2 separate regions of the Homo sapiens genome follow, and region 2 is linked to region 1. The links are contacts of gene promoters, found by promoter capture Hi-C in human tissues and cell types (Jung and others, 2019). All regions are on one chromosome and are shown on one strand. Each heading gives the region's core, a stretch centred on a gene start or on the middle of the fragment in contact. The rest is flanking DNA. Distances are from core to core; before and after follow the strand shown. Region 1 holds the start of HEPN1 (hepatocellular carcinoma, down-regulated 1). Region 2 overlaps CCDC15 (coiled-coil domain containing 15).

The links. The method cuts DNA at HindIII sites, captures the fragments that hold promoters and counts their contacts. A contact is called where the count stands out against the background at its distance.
Region 2: a contact is called between a fragment that was not itself captured here and the fragment with the promoter of HEPN1 in region 1, in 2 of the 25 tissues and cell types used here (H1 embryonic stem cells and adrenal gland).

The regions. Positions count from the first base shown.
Region 1 is chr11:124,916,118-124,920,559 of GRCh38, reverse strand. It overlaps HEPN1 (hepatocellular carcinoma, down-regulated 1), which reads right to left and starts at 1,310. Exons shown (of 1, transcript NM_001037558.4): 1 at 1-1,310. The coding sequence starts at 809. The coding sequence ends at 543. It overlaps HEPACAM (hepatic and glial cell adhesion molecule), which reads left to right. Exons shown (of 7, transcript NM_152722.5): 7 at 1-1,355. The region is part of intron 1 of LOC107984406 (a long non-coding RNA gene); the gene reads right to left. The HindIII fragment of the contact is 7,901 bases long and covers 1-4,442 here.
Region 2 is chr11:124,965,948-124,970,155 of GRCh38, reverse strand. The region is part of intron 4 of CCDC15 (coiled-coil domain containing 15); the gene reads right to left. Among named protein-coding and RNA genes, the nearest start is that of CCDC15, 14 kb to the right of the region's middle. The HindIII fragment of the contact is 4,673 bases long and covers 1-4,200 here.

The sequences.
Region 1 (4,442 bases), core at 61-2,560:
AGGCCTTCTTCCCTGGGCACCTGGTACCTGGGGACCTACAAGGTGGTGAGGGAAGGGTACGAGTACATTCCTTTTCCCTCTGACCTGGGCGCTAGCAAGGGCAAAGAACCCGAGCCTGCCAGCTTGGCCTCCTCCCACAGCCTCCCTCGGAGGCATGCCATGCCAAGCACTCTTTCTGTCTCTGTTCATGAATAAAAGAGATGGATGGGCTTATTCTTATAGAGAAGTGAATTTCACTTACTCCCCTGGCCCGAAAACTAGACCAAATGAGGAACTGTTTTAGCTCATCAAACTCATATATTCCTCCTGGCTTCCTTACAAAACAAGCCTTTCAAACAATCATTGTCCTCAGGAAAGTTGTTGAGCTTCCTCCAGCTGTGAGAATAAGTCCTAATCTCCAGAGAAATGGTGGGGGGAGGAGGAGGCTTATTGCTTCCCAGCATTTGGGGGGAACATGATCCAACCCCTGGCCTCCTGCCACCCATCTGCCCTGCTCCCACATGCTCAGGTCCCAGGGCACAGAAAAAGGGCAGACTCCCTAATCACACTAACATCAAAATAAAGAGGCTGGGCCGCTGTGTAGCCAGGACATGCCCATGCCACCGCCTATTGAACAGTTCATAGGAGTGGCAGTAATCTACTGTGTGAGGAGAGAGGGCAATTAAAAAGCTGAAAGAGAAGGAGGCCCTCTGTGTATTCCATTCCCTCCTCCTTAATGCCTCCAAGGGTCCTTGCATCCCTAGTCTCCTAAACTCCAGCTCTGATTCGCCATCAACCCATGGAGCAATTCCAAGGCCCCAGTTACCCATCACCTCCACACCAGGTCAAGTTTTGTCTCAGCCCCAAAGGCACTGACATTTCTAGTTTGCCCCCTCTGCCCTGAACCCCACAGCATGCCTGTCTCAGCTCCCTGTCCCTCGGCACTTCCCCAGGCTCATTTGAGCAGGTGTGCCTTCGCAGCTCCCCTAAACTTCCCAGGTGCCTCATCCATAATGAGATAATGCATGTAGGGGAAAAGTTTCTCAAGAAGGTGGAAGAGGCAGCAGGACTTGGATAAGGAGTACCTGCTGGTCAGCCTTGAGATGCACAGGTGAAGGTTAGGGTGAGATGAGAACATGCCATACCCTGGTGCTGAATCCCTGAGGGGCCAGCTTGCCAGGCTTAAGCCAAATCTGCCTTAAATTGGGGGTGGGGAGGGGTAAGTAAGGAAGTGGGGTTTGTTTTTGTGTTGTTTTCATCTTCATCTTTGTATTACTAGCATCCAGCAGAGTGCCTAGCACATACTGGATGCTCAATAAACTTTTGATGAAATGAAATGACAACTTTATTCCACATAAACAAGGGTAACAAAACAAGCTGCTTAAATATACCAGTCATTTCTCTTCTTCTCCTTTCACCTCCTTTACCCTCTTTCCAAACCCCAAATTGTCCGTTCCAAAATCACTTACCCGTTCATTCATTTACTTATTCAGGTGTTCTTTTATTTATTCGACAAACATTTGTTTACCTACCATGGACTAGGCCCTGTGCTAGACACTGCTGATACAGCATAACTATGTCAGGAAGACAGATCAGTAAACAGATTACAATATAGTGTGTAAAATGCAATGGCAGAAGTAGATACAAGGTGCTCTGGGAGCATGTAGATTAGATGTCAGCAAAGGCATCTTGGAGGAGAACAGACCTGAGTTGAGTCTTTCTTAGAAAGACTTGTTAGTTAATCTGGTTTTTAAAAGTATGAGAGGACACACTCCAAGCAGAGGGAGAAGCATGTATAAAAGCTTGGAAGTGCAAGACACGATGGGGGGGAATTCAGGGTACTGAGCCTAGCAGTTGATGAAATTATTTCAGGAAAGTATACAAAGTAGAAGGTGAAGAAAGCTGCAGATAGATTTCTGAGGCATCAGTATGTGTAGAAAATTTAAAAGGACTTCACCAAGAAGGCTTAAAAGGCACAGCCAGCAAGATAGGAGAATATATAGGAGATAACTATATCACACAATCAAAAGAACAAGAGAGTTTCAAGAAAAAGGGAGCATTCGGGACTACAAGGGCAGGGGGCTCACATATGAAATGAAGTTAAAAGTGCATGTTAAATTTGGCAACAATGAAAACATTGAGTGACTTGGCATAAGTAGTTTCAGACATGTAGTAGGGGTTAAAGCCAGATTGCAACAGGTAAAAAGTGATATGTGGAACTTCTCTGCTAAATACTTGAGACTAGATGTTTGAGAGGTCTTCCTGTTTCAAAACAACTAGGTCTTGCTTAAATGATATTTGTTTTGCATTGCTGGCTTCAAGAGATGGGGGAATTTTTTTTTTTTTTTCAGACAGAGTCTCATTCTTGTCACCCAGGCTGGAGTGCAATGGCGCAGTCTAGGCTCACTACAACCTCTGCCTCCTGGGTTCAAGTGATTCTCCTGCCTCAGCCTCCCGAGTAGCTGGGACTACAAGCACGTGCCACCATGTCCAGCTAATTTTTGTATTTTTGGTAGAGACAGGGTTTCACTATGTTGGCCAGGCTGATCTCAAACTCCTGACCTCATGATCCGCCCACCTTGGCCTCCCAAAGTGCTGGGATTACAGGCATGAGCCACTTCCCTGCCAGAGATGGGGGAAATTTTTAAGCAGTCAGAAGTAAAACAAAATTTAAAAGCACAGTGAGCTCAAAGTACTTAGCACTCATTAAATATGAGATTACCAAGGGAGGTGAAGCAAGATGGCTGAATAGAAGCCTTCACTGATTGTCTTCCTGCAAAAACACCAGATTGAACAACTGTCCACACAAAAAAAGCACCCTCATAACAACCAAACATCCAATGAGTGATCACAATACCTGGTTTTAACTTCATATCACTGAAAGAGGCACTGAAGAAGGTAAGAAAGACAGTCTTGAATTGCTGACACCACCCCTCCCTCATCACCCGGCAGCTGCCGCATGGAACAGAGAGAGAATCTCTGCACTTGCGGGAGGGAGAGTGCAGTCATTGTGGGGCTTTGCATTGGAACGCAGTGCTGCCCTGTCACAGGGAGAAACAACACCAGGCAGAACTCAGCCAGCACCCACAGAAGGAGCATTTAGACCAGCCCTCGCCAGAGAGGAATTACACATCCCAGTGGTTGGAACCTGAATTCCAAAAAGACTCACGACCATGGGTTAAAGTGCTCTGGGGTCCTAAATAAACTTTTAAAAGTCTGTCTAGGACACAAGGACTGCAATTCTAGGGGGGATTCCTGATGCTGTGCTGGGCTTGAAGCCAGTGGACTTGAGCATATGATCTAGTGAGACACCAGCTGGTGCAGCCAAGGGAGTGCTTGCATCATCCCTCTGCCAACACCAGGCATCACAGCTTGCAGCTTTGAAAAAGACTCCTTTCTGTGGTTGGAGGAGAGGAGCAGGAAGAGTAAACAGGACTGTGTATTGCAACTTGGATATCAGCTCAGCCACAGTAGGACAGGGCATAAGACAAGCTCAGCCACAGTAGGATAGGGCATAAGACAGAGTCCTGAGTCCCCCATTTCAGGCCCTAGCTCCCAGACAACATTTCTAGACACCCTGGGCCAGAAGGGAACCCATTGGTTTGAAGGGAATGACCCAGTCCTGGCAGCATTCATCACCTGCTCTCTCTAGAGCCCAAGGGCCCTCAATAATTTGCAATAGAACCCAAGCAGTACTTGCCATTGGCCTTGGGTGAGACTAAGAGACATGTTGGCTTCAGATGTCACCAAGCACCTTTCCAGCTGTGGTGGCTATGGGAAGGGGCTCCTTCTGCTTGAGAAAAGTTGAAGGAAGGATAAAGGGGACTTTGTCTTGCAGCTTAGGTACCGGTGTGGCCTCAGTGCGGTAGAGAACCAAGTGGGCTCTTGGGGTCCCCAATTCCAGGGTTTAGCTCTTGTATGGCATTTCTGGACCTGCCCTAGTGGCCATAGTGGAGCCCACTGCCTAGAAAGGAGAGTCCTATGCTTAGCAGCATTCATAAGCTGACTCAAGAGCCCTTGATCCATGAATGAACATCAGCAGTAGCCAGGCAGTATTGACCATGGGCCTGGGGCAGTGGTGACCAAGGGAAGAGACACCTCTGCTTGAGGAAAGGAGAGGGAAGAGTGGGAAAGACATTGCCTTGGGCTTGGGTGCCAGCTCAGCTGGAGTAAAATAGAGCACCAGGTAGATTCCTAAAGTTTCTTACCCCAGGCCCTGGCTCCCAGGTGACATCTCTGGACCTGCCCAGGACTGGTGGAAACTTGGCACCCTGAAGTAATGGATACAAGCCTGGCTGGCATTGCCACCTGCTGACTCTAGAGCCTTAGGGCCTTGAGCGAACATAGCTGGTAGCCAGACAGTGGTTACCACAGGCCTTTGGTGACACCTGGTGCTGTGCTGGCTTCAGGTCTGACGCAGCACAGTCTCAGTGATGGTGGCCACAGGGATACTTGTGTCACCC
Region 2 (4,208 bases), core at 615-3,114, 49 kb before region 1:
TGAAGCTGTGATGAGGAGATGACAATACCAGTTAATGGTAGAGAAATGAGAAAATAAGAGGGAAGCATACATGTAGAAACAAGGTGACCAACTATACTAGTTTACCTAGAACTGTCTCAGTTTTAGCACTGAAAAGTCCCATGTCCTGGAAACCCCTCGATCTTAGACCAATAGGGAAGGTTGGTCACCCTATGAGAAGAACTGAATCAATCAAGCTACTGATTAAATATTAGTGTGAAGATCAAATATCTCATGCTCTTGGGGTCACTGGAGCTCACATCCAGAAAAACTCACATCCAGAAAAACTCTCCAGTTGCATTCCTCAAAGGAGTTTGGATTTGTGTGAGATTCTGATTCTTCCCTTATTAACCCATGTGTATTCTTCAAATAAACTTTCCCCTTGTTTGGGTTAGCCTGAGTTCTTGCAGGCAAAAGTGTCTGACTGAAATACTAGTTTTTTCAATGGTAGATTACAAGAATTTAGCAGGCTATTTCACATTACTTAAAGCTTTACTACAAAAAGTAATTATTTCCATGGTTTTAAAAAGCTGGAAAACTAGCACTGTAAAGAGAGAATAAAAATAGAAATAAGATAGTAAAAGATTCAGTGAGAAACAAAAAGCTGGAATAAACCATGCTAGAAAACAGTAGCAAACTGAATAGGGACAGATCAATAAAAAGTTATTATATGGTAAGACTAAAACAATGATCAGTTGTTCTTCAATTCCTCACCAAAATGCCGCTTTCAAGGGACATCACAGAAACTGAATCCCTAAAGATAAATATCAGTCCTAATGAAAACAAAATACTGGTTCTATATATTATAAGACACTTGAAATTTCTTCCAGTCTACAATTCTAGCTCCTACCTTTAGGCAACTAATCTTAACTGACCTTTGAACAAGTAGGTAATACCAAGTATTATCAAGCAGAGGGTGAGGTAAGGGGTGCGGATTAAGAGCACTAGTGGCCAAATCATATTTAAAATACAGTATTGTGTTGTTTTTGAGGTCCTATTTCAGAAGAATATTGAAAAACAAAATAGTATTCAGAAGAAATCAATAAGGCATTAGGAATATAGAAACCCAAAAAAGAAAAATGATAACTATAATCAAATACTTGAAGTGCTCTCAGATGCTATCTTATTTTTTATTACCTGAGAGGGCAAAATTAAGACCAATGGATAAAAGTTATAGGGAGGAAGATTTTTGACTCAACATGTTGAAAAAATAGTTGCAATAATTTCAAGTCTTCTAAAAATAAAATGATCAGTCTGAAAAAGTAATGAGTTGTCCAATAGTGGAGGTGTTGTGGCAGGAATTAGATGGCCACATATGGAGATAATATAAAAAGAATTGGGGGGTCCATTCCAAGATGGCTGAATAGGAACAGCTCCGGTCTGCAGCTCCCAGCGTGATCGACGCAGAAGACAGGTAGATTTCTGCATTTCCAACTGAGCTACCTGTCATCTCCTTGGGACTGGCTGGACAGTGGGTGCAGCCTACGGAGGGTGAACCGAAGCAGGGTGGGGCATCGCCTCACCCAGGAAGTGCAAGCAGTCGGGGGATTTCCCTTTCCTAGCCAAGGGAAGCCATGACAGATGGTACCTGGAAAATCGGGACACTCCCGCCCTAATACTGCGCTTTTCCAACAGTCTTAGCAAATGGCACACCAAGAGATTATACCCCGCACCTGGCTTGGCAGGTCCCACACCCACAGAGCCTTGCTCACTGCTAGCGCAGCAGTCCGAGATTAAACTGCGAGGCAGCAGCCTGGCTGGAGGAGGGGCGTCCGCCATTCCTGAGGCTTCAGTAGGTAAACAAAGTGTCTAGGAAGCTCGAACTGGGTGGAGCCCACTGCAGCTCAACGAGGCCTGTCTGCCTCTGTAGACTCCACCTCCAGGGTCAGGGCATAGCTGAACAAAAGGCAGCAGAAACTTCTGCAGACTTAAACGTCCCTGTCTGACAGCTCTGAAGAGAGCAGTGGTTCTCCCAGCATGAAGTTTGAGCTCTGAGAACGGACATACTGCCTCCTCAAGTGGGTTCCTGACCCTCCTGTAGCCTAACTGGGAGACACCTCCCAGTAGGGACCGACTGACACCTCACACAGCCAGGTGCCCTCTGAGACGAAGCTTCCAGAGGAAGGATCAGGCAGCAATATTTGCTGTTCTGCAATATTTGCTGTTCTGCAGCCTCCACTGGTGATACCCAGGCAAACAGGATCTGGAGTGGACCTCCAGCAAACTCCAACAGACCTGCAGCTGAGGGACCTGACTGTTAGAAGGAAAACTAACAAACAGAAAGGAATAGCATCAACATCAACAAAAAGGACATCCACACCAAAACTCCATCTGTAGGTCACCATCATCAAAGACCAAAGGTAAATAAAACCACAAAGATGGGGAGAAACCAGAGCAGAAAAGCTGAAAATTCTAAAAACCAGAGCACTTCTTCTCCTCCAAAGGATCACAGCTCCTCGCCAGCAACGGAACAAAGCTGGATGGAGAATGACTTTGACTAGTTGGCAGAAGTAGGCTTCAGAAGGTCAATAATGACAAACTTCTCCGAGCTAAAGGAGGATGTTTGAACCCATCGCAAGGAAGCTAAAACCCTTGAAAAAAGATTAGACGAATGGCTAACTAGAATAAACAGTGTAGAGAAGATCTTAAATGACCTGATGGAGCTGAAAACCATGCACGAGAACTACGTGACGAATGCACAAGCTTCAGTAGCCAATTTGATCAAGTGGAAGAAAGGGTATCAGTGACTGAAGATCAAATTAATGAAATGAAGTGAGAAGTTTAGAGAAAAAAGAATAAAAAGAAATGAACAAAGCCTCCAAGAAATATGGGACTATGTGAAAAGACCAAATCTATGTTTGATTGGTGTACCTGAAAGTGACAGCGAGAATGGAACCAAGTTGGAAAACAGTCGTCAAGATATTATCCAGGAGAACTTCCCCAACCTAGCAAGGCAGGTCAACCTTTAAATTCAGGAAATACAGAAAACACCACAAAGATACTCCTCGAGAAGAGCAACCCCAAAACACATAATTGTCAGATTCACCAAGGTTGAAATGAAGGAAAAAATGTTAAGGTCAGCCAGAGAAGGTCGGGTTACCCACAAAGGGAAGCCCATCAGACTAACAGCGGATCTCTCGGCAGAAACTCTACAAGCCAGAAGAGAGTGGGGGCCAATATTCAACATTCTTATAGAAAAGAATTTTCAACCCGGAATTTCATATCCAGCCAAACTAAGCTTCAAAAGTGAAGAAATAAAATCCTTTACAGAGAAGCAAATGCTGAGAGATTTTCTCCCCACCAGGCCTGCCTTACAAGAGCTCCTGAAGGAAGCACTAAACATGGAAAGGAACAACCAGTACCAGCCACTGCAAAAACATGCCAAATTGTAAAGACCATCGATGCTAGGAAGAAACTGCATCAACTAATGGGAAAAATAACCAGCTAACATTATAATGACAGGACCAAATTCACACATAACAATATTAACCTTAAATGTAAATGGGCTAAATGCCCCAATTAAAAGACACAGACTGGCAAATTGAATAAAGAGTCAAGACCATCAGTGTGCTATATTCAGGAGACCCATCACACGTGCAGAGGCACATATAGCCTCAAAATAAAGGGATGGAGGAAGATCTACCAAGCAAATGGAAAACAAACAAAAAAAAAAAGCAGGGGTTGCAATCCTAGTCTCTGATAAAACAGACTTTAAACCAATAAAGATCAAGAGACAAGGCCATTACATAACGGTAAAAGGATCAATTCAACAAGAAGAGCTAACTATCCTAAATGTATATACACCCAATACAGGAGCACCCAGATTCATAAAGCAATTCCTTAGAGACCTACAAAGAGACTTAGACTCCCACACAATAATAATGGGAGACTTTAACACCCCACTGTCAATATTAGACAGATCAACGAGAGAGAAGGTTAACAAGGATATACAGGACTTGAACTCAGCTCTGCAACAAGTGGACCTAATAGACACCTACAGAACTCTCCACCCCAAATCAACAGAATATACATTCTTCTCAGCACCACATCGCACTTATTCCAAAATTGACCATATAGTTGGAAGTAAAGCACTCCTCAGCAAATGTAAAAGAACAGAAATCACAACAGACTGTCTCTCAGATGACAGTGCAATCAAATTAGAACTCAGGATTAAGAAACTCACTCAAAAC